7 separate regions of the Homo sapiens genome follow, and all the other regions are linked to region 1. Evidence: promoter capture Hi-C in 16 types of primary human blood cells and fetal thymus (Javierre and others, 2016). All regions are on one chromosome and are shown on one strand. Each heading gives the region's core, a stretch centred on a gene start or on the middle of the fragment in contact. The rest is flanking DNA. Distances are from core to core; before and after follow the strand shown.

Region 1 (3,021 bases), core at 232-2,731:
TCCCAGGGTTGCTCAATGATTGAGACAATGGCACTAAGAATCATGACTCACACAGTTAAGCACTCAACAAATGTAGGTAGTATTACTGCCATAATAATAGTTATTCAACTTTAAATGGTCTTTCCTCTTGGGTCTCAGCTTTCTTACTCAAGATTGACCACACACACACTTTAGACTAGTTCTTCCTCCCTTGCAAAACTACACACATCTAACACCCATCCGACGCCTGAAACCTCCCCTAGCAACCCGGAGTCCTGCTGGGGTTTTCCAGCTCCACCTCCTGAACAGCTGGGCTGTAGCACACAGGCTGGATCTACTCATACTTGCCTTCCTAGAGCTCAACTGAAGTCACTTCAGACAAGTGAAGTACCCACTCACCTCTGGAATCAGATCTTGGTAACGCCAACAGGTTAGCAGGTGATTTCATTTCAGTGTGTGTCTGGGTGGCTAGCATTCAAACGCAGCTCACACTGGGAGCTATTTCTAGTCCAATTTTGCTACTTGGTAACGTATTAATAGCATCAATTAAAACATTCCCAACGAATAGATCTTTAAAAGGACGGTTTCTGACTTCCCTAACAAGCAGAGGGCCGACCACCTGCCTGCGAAGTGCCCCTCCTGCCCTGTCTCCAGGCAGCATGCTGTGAGCGATGACAGAAACTGGACCCGCGCACAGAGAAGCTGCAGGCACGCCCTGCCCGGCCACCCAGCTGCCTGCCTGCTTCGCCCGGCCGCCGAGCCCCGGGGGAAAACCTAGAATGGGGATGCCGGTGCGCCCCGACACCTGGGCACGGCCGCGGGCCGGGGAGCCGCCCACACTTGGCTCCCCAAGAGTTAAACGCTGAGTAATTTTCCTGAGGAGCAAACAGTCGGAGCGGGGGCTCTGCCAATGGCCACAGTATTTTTATCCGACTTAACCGACACCGCGGCGCGACCTCGGCTGTCCCCAAGGGTATCCCCACGCGGCACGCTCCGGAGTCCCCGACCGGGACCCTCGCCGGCTCCCAGCGCGACATGGACGACAGCGCCGCCGCCGAGTCCCCCGCGCCCGGGCAGGAGGCAGAGACCTGGGGCCGCCCGAGGACTGCTAGGGGCCCCTCCGCCCGGGGTCCGCGCCCGGGCCTAAGCGGTAGGGGGTGTGCGCCCAAGTTGGCCCGCTTTGCTGCAAGAGTGGAAAGGGGTGGGAGCAGAAAGCGCCGGCCCCGCCCGGGGCGGGGAGCAACGCGGGGCTGCAGGGCCGCCTCGGGGCCCCGAACCACCGCCGCCCGGCCCACCGCGGCGCCGGGGAATGAATGGGGCTCCCCAGCTGGCAGCGGGCGCGCACTCACAGGCGACGTAGGCCAGCAAGGCGATGCCCAGCAGCAGCTTCATCCTCCTGCGGTTGACGGCAGACACGAGGCGCAGCAGCGCCTTGCTCACCATCCCCGGGAGCCGCGCGGGTCCAGGGCCCTACCGCGCGGGGGCCCGCCTGCTGCACAATGCGCGGCGGCGGCGGCGGCAGCGGCCCCGAGAGCCCCGCCTCCTGCCGCCGCGCGCCCCCGCCCCCGCGCGCCTGCTTCCTGCTGGCGGGATCACCGCGCAGGCGCGCCTCCACCCCCTTCCTCCGGCTCCGCCCCCGCCCCTCCGGCTTCTCTACCCGCAGGCGCAGTTGCCGCCTTTCTTGCCTTGGTTTTCGAAGAATGTGACCTGGAGGGCTGGTGGGCGGTGCGGCGCGCCGCGGCGCATGCGCGTTCCGGTCTGTTTTCCCTGAGTTAAAGCGCGCGGGTGCCAGCCGGGAGGTGCGGCTGGATTCGTTTCGCTGAGGTGCGTCCCCAACCCAAGGGCACGACTGCAGTGGCCAGTTTCCGAGCCCCGCCCGGAGGGGGGCACGCGGTGGGCATTCCGGTGTTGCAGTGAAACGAAACTTATTTGCTAAACTTGGCCGAGCCTTAGAAGTTGAATGCCTGCCTCAGAAAGTTGCCTCGTTCTCTGGGCTGTTTAGTTGGCTTTTTTTAGTTAGAATATCGGCAGCGAAAATGATAAATCCCCTAAACCTTGCCGAAGTAAAAACTGGCTGCGTTTTTTTTCCTTGGCTATGATCAACTGGGGTGCCTTTGTTTTAATAATAGTCTTTTATTATTATTTTAAAAAGCAGTGCTAAGTATATTAATTTAGGATAGACTTGGAAAAGAAAAGATGAAATTGCGCTGTCTCTGCCTAGAGAAAAACCCTGACCATGTTGTCGTGTGTGTTTCATTCAATCTTTTTGTTGAGTATATCTGTTTTATGAGTGCTGTACTGATTGCATAGGAGGTACCTGTGTTTAAAAAGCATTTACTGAATGATGATTACAAGCAAGGAGATGTATCAGAAGATCCACAGATAATCGGAAGCTTGTCATTGGATCTGGAGAGAGCTGGTCCCATGGAGGAAAAAAAGACAGGTACACACAGATGTGTGTGATGCCACATTAAGAGAGATCCCGGATTTGGGATCTGCAGGCTTCAAGAGGTCATCTTCAGCTATACGGAGAAGTTGAAGTCAGCAGCGGCTCTCCTACCTCTTGGAACCTCAGGCCATTTTGCAAAACTTAATAGATCACCCTCCTTTAGATTTATTAGAAACCTCCAAGAAAAGGAAATATGGCAGCTGGTACTAAAGCAGCAGCTTTATGTTACATCTTTCAAACTATAGTGCAAATGATGTGATTCTGATAAAACCTACCTCCATCCTACCCCTCCCCTAAACCTGTTGAGAATCCCTGACTAGGAGGAAACACTGAGCGGTTTGCTAAGGCGGATTGCCCCTGCTATGCATGCTGCCCATAGATGGAGTGGACTTCTTTCGAGAAGCCCAGCTCCCTGACTCTGACGTGTCCAAGGAGGCTGCCAAGTGACAAAACACCTGGCATGGGAGCCTGAGTCCTGGGTTCCCAGAGGGGCCAGGCCCCCAGAGCACACCAGTTTGGAACAAATCGATTTTGTTTGTAAGTCTGCATTTCCTCGTGGCTTTCTGGCTATGGTTTTTGAAAAGAGAACTAGA
Region 2 (3,021 bases), core at 169-2,668, 430 kb before region 1:
TAAGATCTGAGTTTGATAAAATTTTAAAGGTTGATCGAATACCTAGATTCCTGGTTCTTGGGCCTTCAGAAGGAGAGAATTTCACGTGTTAAGTCCTTATTTGGTCTTATTCAAGGGAGCAAGATTTTTTGTTTGTTTATAAACACATGCAGTATATCGTTTTACGTATTCAAGTACACATAGTACGTTCTCTGGGGAAAGCAGAAAATTGTATTGCATTTCAGCCATGTAATACCCTCACGTTCGTGTATTAAGCTGATCAATAGGGGTATTTATTTCCTTTTGTTGAGCACAGTGTTTTAACGTTTCCAAAGTGTAATTTGTTATTGTTGAAAGTCAACCATGTTACCCTATGCATACAGGCTTTTATATAATAAAACATATGGTATATATTTTTAAGTAAGCGCTTAATTTTAGAATAGATTTTAAATTTACAGAAAAAGTTTCAAAGATAATACAGAGAATTCTGATATAAACTGTGTCTACTTTCCCCTGTGATTCACATCTTACGTTACTATAGTACATTGGTTACATCTAATGAACCAGTATTGGTACATTATTGTTAAGTCCATAGTTTATTTGCCCTGACATCCTTTTTCTGTCCCAGGATCCCATCCAGGGCACGTTTCCTTTAGTCTCCGTAGCGCCTCTGATCTGGGACAGTTTCTTAGACTCGCCTTGTTTTTAATGGCTTGACAGCTTTGAGGAGCAAAACTGCTTTTCAGGTGTTTTGTAGACTGTCCCTCAGTTGAGAGTTGTCAGATGTTTTTTCATGATTAGTGTAGAGTTACCGGTTTGGGGAGGAAGGCCACCGAGGTAATGTGCCATTTTGTATCAAGGGTCCATGTGATCAGCGTGGCTTATGATGGTTGATGTTGATCTTGATCACCTGGCCCAGGTAGTGTTTGTCAGGGGACTCCACTGTCAAGTGACTCCACTGTCAAGTGACTCTTTTCCCTTCTTTCCATACTGCTGCAGTCTTTGGAAGGAGGTCATTTAAGGAAGAGGGAGTTCAGCTGTACCTCCTGTAGGGGTTGTATTTACATTAGTTATTTAGAATTCTATCTGACAGATTTATCTATTCTCCCAAAAGGGACCAAGATTTTCAGTGGGGATAGAAGGCACTGTGGCACAGACAGCCCCTTGGCACTGTTGCGGAGGAGGTGATAGGATAGGATGGTGCCCCAGCATGGGGTTTCCAGAATGTGGTCCTGGGCTGTGGAGAAATGCAAATTCCGGGGAACTGCCTGACTTCCCGCGTGGGATAGGTTGGTCTGGAATTCTTCCTGTTGCACGAGTTCCCCAGGTGATTCTGATGCATATTCAAAGTTGAGAGCCTCTGCTGTGGATTAGCACTTGAACCCCAGGTGTGCCGGCCAGGAGTCAGGCCCTCACCTCCATCCTTGCCGTTCACACCTCTTCCCTGCTGGTGGCACCTAGCTCTAAGGCTCCCCGTGTAACCACTTCTCCCACAGTTTTGACCACCTCTTGGATCTCTCCATCTGAGGCTCCCTTTGTATCAACCAAGGGTCTTTGCTTTCTGGATAACTTCATCCTTCTTTTGGTGGGCCCAGAGTTCCAGTGAAGGGAGAAACCAGTTACAGCTGAGAACCCTATTGTGGAAAGGCCAGTCAGGGCCAGAGTAGGGAGGTCCCTAGATGCCAGGCTTCTCTGAAAATGGTTTTGTCACATGTGAGAGAGAGAGAGAGGCAGAGACACCGAGACCCCACGTGGACTGTGTTCAGGTTTGAGCAAATAAAAAATCACCGAAAAATCTTCATAGTTTCTACATGTGTCATGCCTTGCGCTTTGGGACACCCCTAGCTCTTGGGCACATTCCCTGGTTGAAGTGGGAGGGCAGTGGCCTGAAGAAGTTTCTTTGGGATTGGGATCTGGGTGGCCCTCATCCTGCTTCCGCCTGAGGAAGCCCTGGTCTGTGACTGGGCTCAGGAAGTGGTCCCGACCCAGTGTCTGAGGAAGGCATTCTCCTCTCATAGATGGGGGCCAGAGTCTGCTGTGAGGCCATGCTGGTGTGCCTGCCCGCCCACCCTACTGGGCCTCTTCTGGGCAGCAGGGTTGTGCCCTACCCGGGTGCTGGGAGGTTTGGGTGTGTATGGGAGCGGTGGTATGGACGGGGCAGGCGTTGGCTCAGAAGCTGGCGTGGGGAGGGTCTTGAAGTGGTCATTTTAACTCCTGGCTGACTGACTTCCAGAGAATCTTTTTTTGGGAGGGAGAAGAGTGGCTCACCTTTCTCTTGGGTACAGAAAAAGTCAGAATTAAGGCCATTAGCCTGTTTCTCTTTCTGGTCACTGCCTTCTCCCTCCTAGTGATGGGACGATTCCAGGCTTGGGTGGAAGGCCAGGTGGGGGGACACTACTTCCTGCTCCACCCTTCCCAAACCATTATACACAGATGAGAGAGACTCTGTTGTATTCATTCACATAGATATAATTTATAATAATGCATTTTGTTTATTAAAAAATGACTGGGCCAGGCAGAGTGGCTCATAGTGGCTCATGCCTGTAATCCCAGCACTTTGGGAGGCTCAGGTGGGAGGATTGCTTGAGCCCAGGAGTTCAAGACCAGCCTGGGCAACATGGCGAAACCCTGTCTCTACAAGAAATACAAAAAAATGAGCTGGGTATGGTGGCAAGTGCCTGTAGTCCCAGCTACTTAGGAGACTGAGGCAGGAGGATCACTTGAGCCTGGGAGGTCCAGGCTGCAGTGAGCCGTGATCAGGCCCCTGTACTCCAGCCTATATGACAGTGAGACCAAAAAAGACTGAATACAGACATGTGCGCTGACCCTTTTGAACATTATTTTCTTTTCAATCTCTGCCTCTGTGTTACAGTTTATGTTTTCTCTTTTGTCCTGCGGATTTTTGATACATTTTAAAAATATCTTGTCCTTTTTCTAAGTTTTTGCGTTGACTACAGTTGCAAGTGTGGGTTTTGGTGGCTTTCTGTAGATGAATCACTTGACCTGAAAACAAGGACTTTCGCTTTGCTAGAAAATTAAGGA
Region 3 (3,021 bases), core at 205-2,704, 400 kb before region 1:
GAGATGTTTCCCTGAGTCTTTCTGATGAAAATGATCCTCTTGCTACATAAAATCCTTATAGGAGCAATAAAACCTGCCTTCGGAACCAGCTGTAAAGCACTTATTGTCCATCATCATCTGCTGGTGAGGACCTTGCTCCCCGGCTTGTGATTCTCAAACCCCAACTTAGGCTTGCTCCCGGTTAACGGGAGGGCTTTTTCTGACACAGACTGCTGCCCCACACACCCCCAGTTTCTGCCTCAGTGGTCTGGGGTGGGCCCCAGTAATTTGCATTTTTAAAAAGTCCCCAGGTGATGCTGGTGCTGGCCAGGGCACACCTCACCATCAGATAACGAACAGGTTGGATATGAGTGGTCGCCAACTAAATGTTCACGAATGGATGTTGTGTTTTGCCATCACTGCCTGGAGGGGGCAGGGTAATCAGAGTCCAACACTAGCGTGTTCATGTATTGAGTGCAAGGGAGCAGAATTGGCTTGTCTTCAAAACATCTTAATTTTTATTGCTTCTACTTTGTGGAATGTTACTTCCTATTTGTAGAACGAGAAGAATTAAAAGTTGATTTGTGAGCTAAAAATACGGGCAGCCGTTTCTTCTTCATCAAAGCCCACAAATAGACCTGAACATTTAGACATAAAAGTAAACCGTTAGAAATAGTGTGCATGTCATTAGGATCTGTTGATTGGATTAAAATGACAGACTCGTTTCTTGGCTTCCTGCAGCTCTCGTCATTGCCCACCATCTATTTTTAGCAGATCTTGCCCTGCTGACTCAGAGTGGGAACAGTTGCTGAGCCCTGGGCTTCTCAATGCCATAGGCTGGCAAGTAGCCTGACTTCTAGGATGGGTAGCACTCTATGCCTGGGCAGCAGGAGAGTCTGTGCCTGTGAGGAGACCCCTCTGCAGGCAGCCTGGGAGCCCGGCCACCCCCGCCTGCCCCATTTCTTGTTACCTCACCCACTGAGAGGAGCCACCTCTGGAGCCCTGGTTTCCTAGGCCCTTTGAGAAGTGTGCCAGGTGTTGCTGCCTGGAGTGTCATCACTTGATGTGACATCTTACTGCATCCCCCGCACCTGTCCTCATCTTAGGTGAAGGCATCAGGCCAGGCCCTTAGTGCCTCCTTCCTCTGTTCTGGGCACCCCTAGGGGAGAAGTGTACATGGGTGGAGCTTGTCTTCAGGAGACTGTACCTGTTTCTTTAAGGCTGCTGTCCAGGTGGGTCTCTCGCTGCCAGCTGATGCACATAGGCAAGACTTGGGTGGAGGGAACGGCCTTTGAGCTGTGCCCGAAGAAGGAAGGGTGTGGCAGGTCAGCCCGAGGCAAGGGAGGAGAGTCCTCATCTGCAGGGCTTGGTGAGGAGCCAGCCAGAGTCCAACCCCTCCCCTTTATATCACAGATGCACACTGCTAGGGGAGTGCTCCTCGTGTTAGAACCTGCAAGAGTTGGAAGGCACTGCTTAGAGGTTGTCCGCTCCCACTCAGGAAACTTTGGGGCTCTGGAAATGCCCATGAGCAACACAGCTGAGAGGGTAGGTACTGTATGTGGGAGCCACTTGGAAGCCCCTGCGGCCCTGGGCTCAGCCACTCTGCACCCTCATTTTCTCATTTGTTAAATGAAGAGGTGACAGCGGAAGATCTCTAATCCTTCCTTCCAGGATTTAAATTCTAGTAATTCTTAAGAGAATGTTGATTCATCTAGAGAAACCTGAGGCAGTGATGTAAATTACAGCCACACTGATAAGAAACTGGTCATTTTTTACCTCTCCCACGTAACCTCTGTGCCTTCACGTTTTTCTCTTCACTCCAGAAGAAGAGTGACCAGGTGTGGTGGAAGGCTCGGTGGCTTTCACGATGGGAGGATATACGGTGTAAAGTGCCTAACAACAATGTAGGGAGTGCACCCTCGCCCCGTTGCCGTGCTTACCGGCCAGAGTGCTGCTGCAGATTACTCTTCGCTCACTGTCTTTGGGATGTCCTTATTTGTTCCGTGTATTACAGTGTAGTTTATTGTATGTTTTTAGAGCACTCTTGTGTTCATTTAAACTTCTCTAGAGCAAAGAGCATTTCGAACTGACTCCATAATAGATCTGATCATAGTGACCTCTTGAAGTGCTTGATACAGGGTTTCGTTTTTCTACTTGACAATTCAGGCAAATCAGTGGTATACATTCTTCGTAGAGCTTGTGAGTTTTGTCTATAATTTGATCCATGTAAAAATGACGCAGCTGCTCGTGGTGGTTGTGTTTTGATAGGCCACTCAATATTTTCATATCTGTTGTATATTTAACACCCGAATAACTTACCAAGATTTTATCGAGTGAACTGATTTTTCTTTTTGGGAGGAGCAGAGGTCAAGCTACCAAAAATGTTTTTTCGATGTTTTGAGTGTGTGTTTTTTAAGCATAATCAGAAACAAAAAGAAGAGCCTTAATGGGTTAGCGGTTGATTCTGAAAAGCAAGCTGTTGATTGTGTTGTGGGCTCTGCACAGAGCCGTGGGAACGCTTCCCCAGTCCTGCCTTGGTGACCGGAGAGATGGATGAGATTTTGGAGACCCCTCCTGCTCAGCCTCACCACTGACCCGCTCCATGCCCTAGGCAGGGAGGTGCTTTGCGCACCTTCATATGTAGAAGATGGTTTGCTGCTTGGGGGTTTCTGATGGCCCTTTCAGCTATCACATTTTATGATGATCTTGACATTCTTTGTAAGATGTGATTTCTTAGTTATCAAGATCATCATATTCAGTGTAGTCCTAAGGTAGAATCAGAATAAATTGCCCAGCTTCAGCAGTTATCAATTAATGGCCAATCCTTTATCTAAGCCCCTATAGACTCTAACAGATTATTTCTGAAGTGAATTCCAGACATCAATTCCTGTCCTGTAAATATTACGGAATTTCAATAACAATAACTACTTAACAAGTATGCAGTCAGTGTTCAAATTTTCCCACCTGTCTCAAAATGTTATTTACAACTGGTTGTTAAAGTCAGAATCCACGTAAGGTCCACACATGCAGCTGAATGATCTA
Region 4 (3,021 bases), core at 288-2,787, 400 kb after region 1:
CTTTTCCATCTCGTGAAGTTATTTTGTTTAAAATGAATCAGCAATCCAATCAACAATTGGCTCTGATATAAGCCCTTTCTTTATAGTGGCTGGATAATATTTTTAAAATATTGTTTGAAAGTCTGATTTCTTTTTCTACCTCCCTATTAGTCTTGAATATTACTACCGTTTACAAAACAGCTAGGTCGGTCTGGGATTCATTGCTTCTAGGAAGGAATGTTTTGATATTATTGTGTAAACATCTATATTAAAAAAAACCGTGAGAATTAATTCAGTATTATGACTAATAATAAAATTCACTAAGCTGGCTGAATACCAACATGTATGTACATGTACAAGTACATATGTGTACAGCACCATTCCCCTATGTCGGCAAAACCAGCTGGGAAATCGAGTTCATTCAACATGTATGTATTGAGTGTGGATTTTCCTCTAGGCCCCTTTAGCCTTGAGACTATAGCCTTGAACAAAGCAGATGAACCCCTGTTTTCACTGGCATTTATATTCCAGTAAAGATTGACAGAGAATTAACAAATAAGTAAAATATGCTAAGCGAGATGTGTTATGGCCCCTGGAAGATGCAGAAGTGAGGAAGAAGGAAGAAGATTGTGGGCGTGGGGCTGCAATTTTAAATAAGGGATCATGGAAGGCCTCATGGAGAAGATGTAAATTGGTAAAAACCCGGAGGTGGGGAAGGAGAGAGCCATACAGGTTTCTGGGGGGACAGCATGCCAGGCAGAGGGTAAAGCAAGTGCAAAAGCCTTGAGATAGAAAGCTTCCCATTCTGGAAGGAGCAGGAGGTCAGTGGGGCTGGTCAGAGTGTGTGCATAGGAGATGTGTTGTAGGAAATGGGTCAGAGAAATAGGTGGAAGCCAGGTCTCACAGGATTTCAGAGACTGTTGGTGAGACACACGGAGGCTTCAAAGAGGAGTGGCATCATCTGGCTTTTTTTTTTTTTTCCACGATGATAGCACACTGCAGCCTCTAACTCCTGGGCTCAAGTCATCCTCCTGCTTCAGCCTCCTGAGTAGGCGAGACAACAGTGTACCATCAATGCCCAGCTGATCTGGCTAAATTTTTAACAGGACATATCTGCCTGCAGAGCAGAGACTAGGCAAAAGATGGAAGAGCAGAAGTGACTTTGGAAGAGCTGATATTTTTTAATAATAAAATGATGTCATTCTTGGGCACCGTGTCCCTCAGAATCCTGAGGCTTATGGGCAGTCAGGGGAACTAGCATATCCTCAGCTATGTGCCTCACTTGTCAAATCTTTGCCTGCTCCTGCAATCTCACAAAGTCTTGCATCCTCTGAACCTTGTTAGTGCCCATTCCTCTGTTGTCTTTATGTCTTCTTCCCTAGGACTTGTCCTTAAAGCATCTTGCTTATGTATCTGCCTCCAACTTGGAGATCCTTTTGCCCTGATGCTTGTGGAACCACATTCCATTTGAGAAGAGGGCTTTTCTTTGTATTTGCCTAACCATGAATTCTATTTGGCTGTATATGGACACAGCTGTCTTTCTCCTCAATGTGAGTTTAGGTTCAGAGGACTAAGATGTGATGTCCAGTCAAAAACTGGGTTATGTAGTGGTGTACCTAGTTACAGATCAGAAGGTATCTTTGAATACAGGTTTTATGCTCCTAAATTTCTTTACCCTAAAAGGAGGCAGGGCCCTTGTGAGTGGATTAATGCCATTATTCCTGGAGTGGGTTCCTGATAAAGGGATGAGGTTTGGCCCTCTTCTTTCTCTTTCTCATCCTCACACCTCTGCCACCGGGTGATGCAGCACATGCTCTTGTCAGATGCCAGCACATGCTCTTGGACTTCCCAGACTCCACAAACATGAGTTTCTGTTCATTCTAAATTACCCAGTCTGTAGTTTTATTCTATAGCGGTCTAAAACAAAGACACCCCTACATATAGAAATACTTTTTGTATCAGGACTGATGTCATTTGAATAAACACACAGGCTACACACTGCACAGCTCTGGAGGGCATCGTTTATACAGGCTGGAATGAGGGTTGATATCTTTGGGATTAAACCCAAGGTGACCTAGATTATCTAAAAATTTGAAGCAAAATCTTTATAAATAAGTTACCTTTACTCTCCATGATGCATTGACATTATCCTATTTTCTCCTGTCCAATCCTGTCCTATCTTAACTATCAGTCCATTTTGCATTGCTATAAAGGAATATATGAAACTGGGTAATTTATAAAGAAAAGAGGTTTATTTGGCTCTGCAGACTGTACAAGAAGCATGGTGCCAGCATCTACTTGGGTTTTGGGGAGGCCTCAGGAAGCTTTTTCTCATGGCAGAAGGTTAAACAGGAACAAGTGTGTCATATGGTGAGAGAGGAAGCAAAAGAAAGAGGAGGTGGTACTGGGCTTCTACAAAAACCAGCTCCCATGTAAACTAATAGAGTGAGAACTCACTCATTACCGTAGGGAGGGCACCAAGCCATTCATGAGGAAGCCGTCCCCATGACAAACACCTTCCACCAGGCTTCACTTCCAACATCGGGGATCAGATCACATTTCAACATGAGATTTGGAGGGGGCAAATATCCAAACCATATCACTAACCTATGCTATCCTATTCCATCTCCTTCCATTTAATAAATGATGGTCAAGCCAGGCATGGTGGGTCATGCCTGTAATCCCAGTACTTTGGGAGGCTGAGGCGGGGAGATCACTTGAGGTCAGCAGTTTGAGACCAGCCTGGCCAACATGGCAAAAACCCATCCTACTAAAAATACAAAAACTAGCCTGGTATGGGGTCGTGTGCCTGTAGTCCCAGCTACTCAGGACGCTGAGGCACGAGAATTGCTTGAAGCTGGGAGACAGAGGTTGCAGTGAGCTGAGATTGCACCACTGCACTCCAGCCTGGTTGACAGAGAGACTCTGTCTTTAAAAAAAAAAAAAAAAAAAAAAAAAAAGATAGTCAAGACCCACTGCATAGGGTCCAATCAGGGAAGCAGAGCCACCATGAGTATTATAGAATATGAGATTGCTTATGGG
Region 5 (3,021 bases), core at 303-2,802, 380 kb before region 1:
CTCTTCCAAGTGGTTCACTAGGAATGAAATATAGCTAGCTCTGCCAGAATTCCCTCAGACAGCGCTGACCCCGTGCTGTGTTGGGCTGGCACTGCCGCCTCCGTACTCTGAACGGGAGATCCACTTGCAGGCCTCTGCTGGGCCTCCTTGGTCAGGGAGGGAGGAGGGAAGGGTAAGACAAGGCATTTGAGAGCTCTGAGGCCTATGCTAATCCATGCTTTTTTGTTTTTCTTTTTAAATAAAAGGAAAAGGACAATTGCCTTAGCTCTGGCTACAGACTAGGGATCTGGAGTGGTTCTCTCCATGTGTAACACAGATTAGATTTGGTTATGATACACACCCGAGTCCAACATCTGCTCATTACTGAAGCCAGGTGACACTATTCAACAAGGCTTTTTTTTTTTTTTCCCTCCTGTGCTAACATCTAAGAGAAGCAGTAACGTTGAAAACAAACTTGGTGTGTGTACATTCATGGGCTTGCTTCTTGATGTAGCCTGACATGGTTCCTAGCTGATTTGAGAGGTTGGAGCCGGCCACCCAGGGTGGCAGATACCCCAGACAGATGGCATCAGCAGATGCGATTTGCAGAATGCGACTGTCAAGGTTCTAGCCCTTTCGTGGTGATCTTTGTCAGGAGAAGGAGCACTCTGGCTTTAAAATCAGACAAGTGTGCATTCAAATTCTGGTTGTGAGACATCTGGTCATTTGGTTCCTGGGCTGAATGATAAGATGTATCTCCCAGGGTTGCTGTGACGATTCTTGCAGCTGATGCTAAGGTGAAGCCACGGCGAGTGTCTCACTGGAATCAGAACATGTTCTTCTCCCAGCCTGTCACCGTTTCTATCATTTGGACAGTGGGAGAGGAGGGATTCCCTGAGCCTCCTGAAGGCTGACTTTAGTCTCTTGGTGACTTCAGTTTTCTGGACAAATAGGCCACCTCAAAAACAGGTTGAGTGACAGCACCCAGTGGTATTATGTCCACAAAGCTCACAGCCTTGGGCTGTCATCAGAACAAGGCTCATAACTCCCTTCTTAACCCTGAACTGCTCCTCTGGAGTTGCCTTAGTCAGGGACCTCATCACTGGACTTCCCTCTCAGATGCTGATAGTTGGAGGAAACCAGCCCAGGTGCAGCAGAAGACACTGCGCCAGCACCACACAGGCATTGGGGATGCAGAATCGGCCACGACTGCTTGCAGGGGGGCATCTCACTGCCTGGCCCTGCGCCTGGGACAAGTAGTGTGGCCTGGCAGTGCTCAGCACACTCGCCCAACACTGCAGCTAAGTGCTGCTGAAAACACTGGAAAACCCTGGGTTGTGGCTTTAGTGGAAAAAAAGCAAATTTTAAGGTTACAGAGAATTCAGATAATCCCTTGGATTTTGCAGTGGTAAAATTTTGTAGTATTAAGGATCCACATTAAAATGAAGAGATACGTACGGTATCAGTGTTAATTGCCTTCCAGCCCTCCCTCCTTTATTTCTAAAGGGAGATGCACGTAGTGCTAGTGAAGTACTTTTAGAGAAAAGCACACACTCCTTCTGTATATTCCTGTCCTGAAGCTGGCTGTAGAAAATCCTTGAATCCTTTGGTGAGGGCCTTCTACAGTCCAAGTGACCGTATAGGTGTTTATCTTTCAGGCTGATACTGTTTTTTGCACAAAAGTGTATACTTTCCTGATGGATTTCGATCACTGATTATAATTAAGACCTGCTTTGAAATGCTCTTCCTTAACACAGGTTTTGAATAAGCTAAGAGCCCCATGTTAAACTTGGGCAGTCTTCATTTAAACCCAGAGAGAGAGATGTTGACCACCATGTTTTATTCTACTTAGGGTGTACACTTAACACATTGACAGTTTGTCAGTGGAATGCTTTTCTCAAGGAAAACATCGCATGCAACCTTCACGTTTTACACTTGAATCCCAGATGGCCACTGGCACCTTTCAATGGATTTTCAGTAGCCTCACTTTTGTTGGAGCTGCTGCATTAGTTCAAGTCCTGCTCCGTTCTGTCTGGCTTTTCCTTTACTGATTGTGCTTGGAGAGGCCGTGTTCTGACTTGCCCACTGTGCCTAGTATCAAAGGACTCAAGTTCTAAATCCAGCTCATTGTTCTTTTGCGGGGTCTGGTAGAGAAGCTGCTCAGGCTTTTGGTTTGCTGTTGGCATAAGGAGTCTCTCCTCTGTTCGCATGCAGAAGAGATTAGAGATGTGCAAAGCCCACTCATCCGGAGTCCAAGGCCTAAGTGATTCCTCACTCTCCAGTCGGTTGGGAAAAACCTTTAGTGTCACTGAGAAAGTGAACTCCTCTGTACATTTGGGCATTAGAATCCATCCTGGCAGTGTATCAGAAGGATTAAATCATATTACTCATGAGACACAGGGCACACAGGGGGGAGGCCTGTATTTGGACAGCCCAAACAACTGCATAAAACAATTCCTTGCATTTGCCTGTGGAAGGCAGACTCTGGGCAAATTCACTTCCCAGTTAAAATCTTAACAACACAACTTAACGTTTATAATAGCCCCTGAAAATGACACATACAGAGGTGGTGTTTGGGGCATGGTACCCAGCACATTGCCCTTTGCTGATGTTCAGTGGTGTCAGCATGAGAAACAAGAACTCTTGGTCAAGAACTGAGTTCAGATTCCAATACTTCCATCTCGAGAGGACCTGTCATTTTATTATAAACACTTAACAGAGAGAAGGGCAATCTGCCTAGTATACGTTTGAACTTCTTGCCCAAAGATGTATTCCCACTGTGTTTGGCCATCACCTTTTCCTTGCCTTAAATTATATCTGTATTAAAATGATGCGGCCTTTAAAACAGTGCTAGAGAATACATAAAAAGGAATTAATTTTTAAATCAAAATTTATGAACTTGCCTTATAACATTTTTATGATAGCCCTATTTGAATTATCTTCTTATCTTTGACTAAAATAGAATTCGATTTTTCTATGGGGTATTTAACATTTTGGATCATAATCATGCTAGGGATGAATTAATAGATCTTCTGTGAGTGA
Region 6 (3,021 bases), core at 247-2,746, 360 kb after region 1:
TGGGGAAGCAAGGGAATGAACACTTGCTGGGCAGACGCATCAATCATCTGAATCGTGCCACTGAGCCGGACTATAACTATAGCAAGAACGAATCTAACTATAGTCTTATTAGGTGAAAGACTGGATTCTATTTATCTTTTTATGTAGAGCCAACTCAAAAGCTTGCAAGACTCAAGCACCTTTTCTGTTCTCTCTCGGGCTTTGAAAAACTGTTCCCATTATCAATTCAGTATACCCTTAAGGCAAATTTGTCCAACCCGTGACCGTTTGGCCCAGGATGGCTTTGAATGCAGCCCAACACAAACTCGTAATTTTTCTTAAAGCATTACGAGAGTTTTTTGCGACATTTTTAAGCTCATCAGCTATCATTAGTGTTAGTGTATTTTACGTGCGGCCCAAGACAATTCTTCTTCTTCCAGTGTGGCCAAAGGAAGCCAAAAGATTGGATACCCCTGCTTTAAGGTAAGAATTTGGGTTGCCAGTTGGTTGGTACGATTATTCAACTGGCATCCATAATGGTTTCTGGAACACAGAAGATGCACAATGTATTAGCTCCATTCTTCCTTCCCTTGCTTTCTTGCCCTCTGAGGCCAGAAATCCCAAGAGGTAGTGGCAGTCACACCTGGACCAGAGCTCTGAAGAGATGGGTTCTCACCTGAGCTCTGGCTCTCACTGCAGGAATGATCTTATGCAAGGTGTCTTTCCCCCATTCTTTTGTGCAATTGGGATCTGCATAAGTCAGTGGTTCTCAAAGGGGGCAATTTTGTCCTTCTGGGGAAAATGGCTGGAGATATTTTCAGTGTTCACAACTGTATGCGGGGAGAGTGTCCTACTGACATTTAATGAGCAGAGACCAGGGAAATTGCTGAACATCCTACAGGGCACAAGACAGCCCTACAACGGAGGGCTCTCCAGCCCCCAGTGTCAATAGTGCTGAGGAACCCTGGTGTGACAGTAAACGATCACCACTGGAATCATTTACAGTCATGCACTGACTAATGACGTGGATACATTCTCAGAAATGCAATTTTGTCATTCTGTGGACATCACAGAGTGAACTTACAAAGACCTAGATGGTATTGTCTACTACACACCTCAGCTGTACAGGCTGTACTCTGTCCTATTGCTCCGAGGCACAAACGTTTACAGCATGTGACCGTACTGAGTACTATAGGCAATTATAACACAATGGTAAGAATTTGTGTATTTAAACCTAACTAAGCCTAGAAAAGGTACAGTAAAAATATGACATTATAATCTTATTTGACCATGGTCCTATATGCAGTTCATTGTTACGTGGCACATTACTATACTACAAAGGGAAGGTGTGGATTCCTACTATGTAGCAGGTGCTGTACTAGATATTTAAATCTTACTTGATTTGATTTTCACAAAACTCTGCAAGTGTGGATATTAGTGTTCCCATTTTATAGATGAGGCACCTGAAGCTCAGAGAGACTAAGCAGTAGTCATATCACTAGCATGAGTTGCAGTCGAACTTGGAGCTGTTTTCATTAATTTGATGATAAAGACTTTGAAGCATGCATGTGTTTGGTGGTGCTTATAGAATCATAGACCTCCAGAACCAGAAGGTATCTTGAAAGTAGTTGGTTAGTCAGATGTCCTCGTTTTACAGATGGAGAAACTGAAGCAAAGAGGTTTACTCTATAACAGAGCAAGAGCCAGAGTCTGGCCTGGAGCCCATGGCTCAGCTAGGAGAGGGACCAAGCCTTCTAACCAGTGCTCTCTGGGGTGTGTCTGCCTGTAAGAAGACATGGAGTGGGAACACTTGTTTCTCCTAGCAGGCCTGAATTGCCTCTTTATTGCTAGCCAGGCAAATTCCCACTGTAACAGGCCATGGCTGGGTTTCTGGAGGTGGTGGACAGGTTTTCACTTTGGAGCCCTCTAAACAGGTAGTCTTGGCTTTGCAGGTGTTCTTGGACAAGGCTCACACATGCTGCAGGAGAGTGCCTCTGCTGGTTCAGATGCTGTCCCTTAGGACACATCCTTGGCTCTTCCCTACCTCTATCCTTTCGCCTGCTTTCTCACTCCCCACCTTGCATCCCTCTCTATGCCCTCCAACTCTGACTTGCAAAATAGACCAAGGAGACAGGTTAGGAAGAACTTCTGGGAGCAACACGGAAAAAAGTACGTTTTTGGAATCTGGGTCACTATCGTAATCTGCTGCAGATAATGAGCAGTGAATGTGTGTTTGATGAGATGGGACTTCTTCCCCTTAGGTCTGAAGGAACTCATTTGGAGAACAGGCATGCAGATGCCCTGAGAGCTCGGTGCCACACGATGGACACACAAATGGAGATATGGCTTCCACATGCTGTGTTCCCACACCTCTCATATTTCAGACGCAGTGCTTTGCCCTTCATCCATTAACTCGCATTCTTTTTCTCTTCTGTCTCCCTCCATTTGGGATGATCAAAATTTTATTTCTGGATGAGCTCCTTTTTGCCCACTCTAAGAGTTAAATACCTTTGCTGACACTGAATTTGGAAACACAGACTTAGGGAAATTTTTCAGAAAGACTGCTTTAAGAGTAATTTTTTTTCCCAACAGACAACACAGAAGTAGAATTTTATTTACTTGCTTTTGCTATTATTAGCCATTTATATCATATCATAACTTATGAATAAGACATTAAGATGAGCATTGTAAACGAATGCTACCAATTGCATAAGAGAGAATCCATTCATTTTTGCTAGCTTGTATTGTTTTCTGTGTTTCCACCATACAATTAGATGTAAAATAGAAATACAATTCTATTGCATTAAAGAGTAATACTTGTTTATATGTTACTATGTGATAGGCATATAATTAAAGCTTAAAAAATTTTTGCTGAATTAAATTGAATGTAATAAGGAACATTTGAAAAACACAGAAAAATAAAATTTTTAAAAATATAAAGTTTTCCATCCCTATTAAATAACCAATATAAACATTTTGGTGTATATCCTTTAACTCTTGTCCCTATGTGTGTATCTGTATCCATATCTCTAACTCTATCTG
Region 7 (3,021 bases), core at 237-2,736, 350 kb before region 1:
ATGTTTCATATATATATAGCCCGAAGGTAATTTCATATAATATTTTTAATAATATGTGTGACCCATCACATGAGGTTGGATGTGGAATTTTTCACTTGTAGTGCTCAAGTTTTGGATTCGGAGCATTTTGGATTTTGGAGTTTTGAATTAGGGATTCTTAGCCTGTATTTCTGTACTGTGGTCCCATAAGAAAAAAAAAAAAAAAACCTAGCCCTCCCCTCTTTATTTTGTAAAGGATTCATGTGTAAAAAGTGGACTACAGGTACTGCTGGTTACAATCAAGGCAGATATACTGATTCTGGGACTGGGGTAGAAAATATGCAAGAAAAGCCCAGAGCATCTTGTGGTGCCAGAAAGTAAGGATGTGCTCAAAGAAACAAACGAACGAACACTCGCAGTGATGGTGATACGTCACAGGGACACAGTAGCCAGCTGAAAACGCTCCCATACACAAAGCTGGAACAATTCAAGAAAAAGCAATATTGGATGGTAGCCCAGAGTATAAAATAGCCGTAAGATCACAGTGATATAAATGATGGAATACGTTAATTAGTAGGGGAAGAGAAATCTCCTGTGCAAAAGGTTTCCAGATAATTCATGTAGATGCTTTGCCCTCAAGGAGATGGAAGAGTTAACTCCCCACCCTTAAGCGTGGGCTGTTCCTGGAGACTTCCTTCCAAAGAGCATAGCATGGAAGGGGGCAAGTGTAACTTCAGTGGAGAATCCTGACAAACACCGCCTCAGCCAGGTGATCAAGGTCAACATCAGCAGTCTGCAGTCCTAAGCCATGTTGACCTTTGATATGGTAAGATGAGAATAGCATGTTGCCTCTGTGGTCTTCCTCCCAAAAGCTAATACTGGAGCACTGATCAGGTATTTTGCAGAAGGTCCCCCACTTAGGATTTGTCTGATGTTTTTCTCATGACATCAGACAAATCCTAACGGGTGGGGGGACATTCTTTAAATACCTGACCAATGCTCTTCAAAAAAAAGGGAAGTCTGAGAACTGCCACAGTCAAGAGGCGCCTAAGCAGACGTGACAACTAAATGTAGTGTGGGATCCTGGGTGGGATCTTGGGACAAGAAAAGGACATTAAGGGAAAGCTAAGGACATCTGAATAAACCATGAACTTTAGTTAATGTATGGGTAGTGGTTCATTAATTGTAACATGCTTATCATACTAATGTAATATGTTAATAATAAAGGAACCTATTTTAGTCTAAAAAATATTTTTGGGCCAGGCATGGTGGCTCACGCCTGTAATCTCAGCACTTTGGGAGGCTGAGGCGGGCGGATTATGAAGTCGAGTTGGAGACCAGCCTGGCCAACATGATGAAACCCCCATCTCTACTAAAAGTAGAAAAAAACAAAAAAAAAAAAAAACAGCTGGGCATGGAGGCTCTTACCTGTAATTGCAGCTACTCGGGAGGGTGAGGCAGAATTGCTCGAACCCAGGAGGAGGAGGTTGCAGTGAGCTGAGATCGCGCCACTGCACTCCAGCCTGAGCAACAGAGTAAGACTCTGTCTTGGGGCGGGGGGGGATATATATATATATATATATATGTATGTATGTATATATGTATATAAAAGAATATATAAATATATATACATAAAAATAGATATATATATTTTGAAATATCAAGCACAGATGCTAGAAACCTTTATTTCCTCATTCTGTTTTCTTAAATGATAGGGATGGTTTCTTTAACAGAATTCTACATTTGGAATAAATATTAGCATTTATTGTTCCAAACTCATTTATAGAGGTGTCTATAGTAATTAAACCCAAAGTAACCCATGTCCCCTCTCCTACACAGGGTCCCTGCTGGCAGGTAGGTACAGGTTCTTGTCCCTAGAGCGGGGTGCAGAGGGGCTTTCTATAATCCACTCTCCCACTTCAATAGGAAAATCTAAAGCATAGATACCATGCTTAGGAATGTGGGCATAAACCATATAAATCTGCAGAACTAAAATGATTTTAGTAGCCTAATAATATTTTAACATTATGAGACCTGGGTAGTGTGGAATCTGTTTTTAAAAATCACTGTGCTTCTTGTTTCAACCTTGCATGTTTCAAAATCAGGCAGGGAATCGTGAGTAACAAGGTGGCAAGGAAAAAGGTCAGATATTGATTAATGTAGCTGAATTCATTTGTAAGAACTGAGGAAACTCATGACATTTATATTTTGAATTTTTTTTTTTTTTTTGAGATGAATCTTACTCTGTCACCCAGGTTGGAGTGCAGTGACTGATCTTTACTCACTGCATCCTCCGCCTCTTGAGCTCAAGTGATTCTCCTGCCTCAGCCTCCTGAGTAGCTGAAATTACAGGCATGTACCAGCATGCCCGGCTAATTTTTTGTATTTTTAGTAGAGGTGAGGTTTCAAATGTTGGCCAGGCTGGTCTCGAACTCCTGACCTCAGATGATCCACCCACCTCAGCCTCCCAAAGTGCCAGGATTACAGATGTGAGCCACCACGCCCAGCCGAGGTTTTTTTGAAGTAGATGTTTAAGTTACAAAATTTACAAGTACCTTACAGCTGTGAAAAAAAAATAGGAAGGCCTGATAAACCGCTAAAAATGGTGACTGTTATCCGTCTACTTTGGGAGCAGGGAGTATGCACTACCTGAAAAGACCTCACTTGTGTTTCCTAAGAAGCCAAGTTCCACCAAAGACATCTATGTCCATTTTCATACGTGGGTATTTTCCCATTGTTGGTATTTCCTCTTCACCCCTTCACCATGCTGTCTTCTGGCTTGGCAGAAGGCAGTGTTGATTCCAGTGCAGTTATATGGAATTTCATTTGTTTACAGTTAACATCATGTAAGAAAATTGGCTTATTAAATTTATGTTGATTTTCCAAAATGCTGGCACCAGGGAATCACTTGACAGTCACAGCCTTCCTCCCAGTGTGATTAGTGTCTAAGACACCAACGAGAAAGCCAAGGAAGGTTACAAAATTGTGTACTTTTGTAGCTGGAGTGGTAAATTATGTGTAAAATAGCATTTCCCAGATTCT

The links. The method cuts DNA at HindIII sites, captures the fragments that hold promoters and counts their contacts. A CHiCAGO score of 5 or more calls a contact.
Region 2: a fragment that was not itself captured here is called in contact with the fragment with the promoter of UXS1 in region 1 in 10 of 17 cell types (neutrophils, naive CD8 T cells, naive CD4 T cells and 7 more); the score reaches 11.6 in neutrophils.
Region 3: a contact is called between a fragment that was not itself captured here and the fragment with the promoter of UXS1 in region 1, in 4 of 17 cell types (total CD4 T cells, naive CD4 T cells, naive CD8 T cells and 1 more). The highest score is 7.0, in total CD4 T cells.
Region 4: a fragment that was not itself captured here is called in contact with the fragment with the promoter of UXS1 in region 1 in 1 of 17 cell types (monocytes); the score reaches 5.3 in monocytes.
Region 5: a fragment that was not itself captured here is called in contact with the fragment with the promoter of UXS1 in region 1 in 4 of 17 cell types (naive CD8 T cells, neutrophils, total CD4 T cells and 1 more); the score reaches 7.7 in naive CD8 T cells.
Region 6: a fragment that was not itself captured here is called in contact with the fragment with the promoter of UXS1 in region 1 in 4 of 17 cell types (monocytes, M2 macrophages, M1 macrophages and 1 more); the score reaches 12.6 in monocytes.
Region 7: a contact is called between a fragment that was not itself captured here and the fragment with the promoter of UXS1 in region 1, in 1 of 17 cell types (neutrophils). The highest score is 6.7, in neutrophils.

Annotation. Positions count from the first base shown.
Region 1 is chr2:106,192,820-106,195,840 of GRCh38, forward strand. It overlaps UXS1 (UDP-glucuronate decarboxylase 1), which reads right to left and starts at 1,482. Exons shown (of 15, transcript NM_001253875.2): 1 at 1,329-1,482. The coding sequence starts at 1,422. RefSeq lists an enhancer at 575-624 and a silencer at 955-1,564. The HindIII fragment of the contact is 11,333 bases long and covers 1-2,370 here.
Region 2 is chr2:105,759,098-105,762,118 of GRCh38, forward strand. The region is part of intron 1 of NCK2 (NCK adaptor protein 2); the gene reads left to right. Among named protein-coding and RNA genes, the nearest start is that of NCK2, 16 kb to the left of the region's middle. RefSeq lists enhancers at 1,955-2,034, 2,926-3,021. The HindIII fragment of the contact is 3,292 bases long and covers 1-3,021 here.
Region 3 is chr2:105,789,561-105,792,581 of GRCh38, forward strand. The region is part of intron 1 of NCK2 (NCK adaptor protein 2); the gene reads left to right. Among named protein-coding and RNA genes, the nearest start is that of NCK2, 46 kb to the left of the region's middle. RefSeq lists enhancers at 464-513, 754-803, 884-933. The HindIII fragment of the contact is 5,853 bases long and covers 1-3,021 here.
Region 4 is chr2:106,588,856-106,591,876 of GRCh38, forward strand. No RefSeq gene overlaps it. Among named protein-coding and RNA genes, the nearest start is that of CD8B2, 100 kb to the left of the region's middle. RefSeq lists a silencer at 1,108-1,328. The HindIII fragment of the contact is 1,528 bases long and covers 774-2,301 here.
Region 5 is chr2:105,812,423-105,815,443 of GRCh38, forward strand. All of the region lies in intron 1 of NCK2 (NCK adaptor protein 2), which reads left to right. Among named protein-coding and RNA genes, the nearest start is that of NCK2, 69 kb to the left of the region's middle. RefSeq lists enhancers at 1-79, 80-580. The HindIII fragment of the contact is 5,530 bases long and covers 1-3,021 here.
Region 6 is chr2:106,553,531-106,556,551 of GRCh38, forward strand. No RefSeq gene overlaps it. Among named protein-coding and RNA genes, the nearest start is that of CD8B2, 68 kb to the left of the region's middle. The HindIII fragment of the contact is 2,674 bases long and covers 160-2,833 here.
Region 7 is chr2:105,843,206-105,846,226 of GRCh38, forward strand. All of the region lies in intron 2 of NCK2 (NCK adaptor protein 2), which reads left to right. Among named protein-coding and RNA genes, the nearest start is that of NCK2, 100 kb to the left of the region's middle. The HindIII fragment of the contact is 6,296 bases long and covers 1-3,021 here.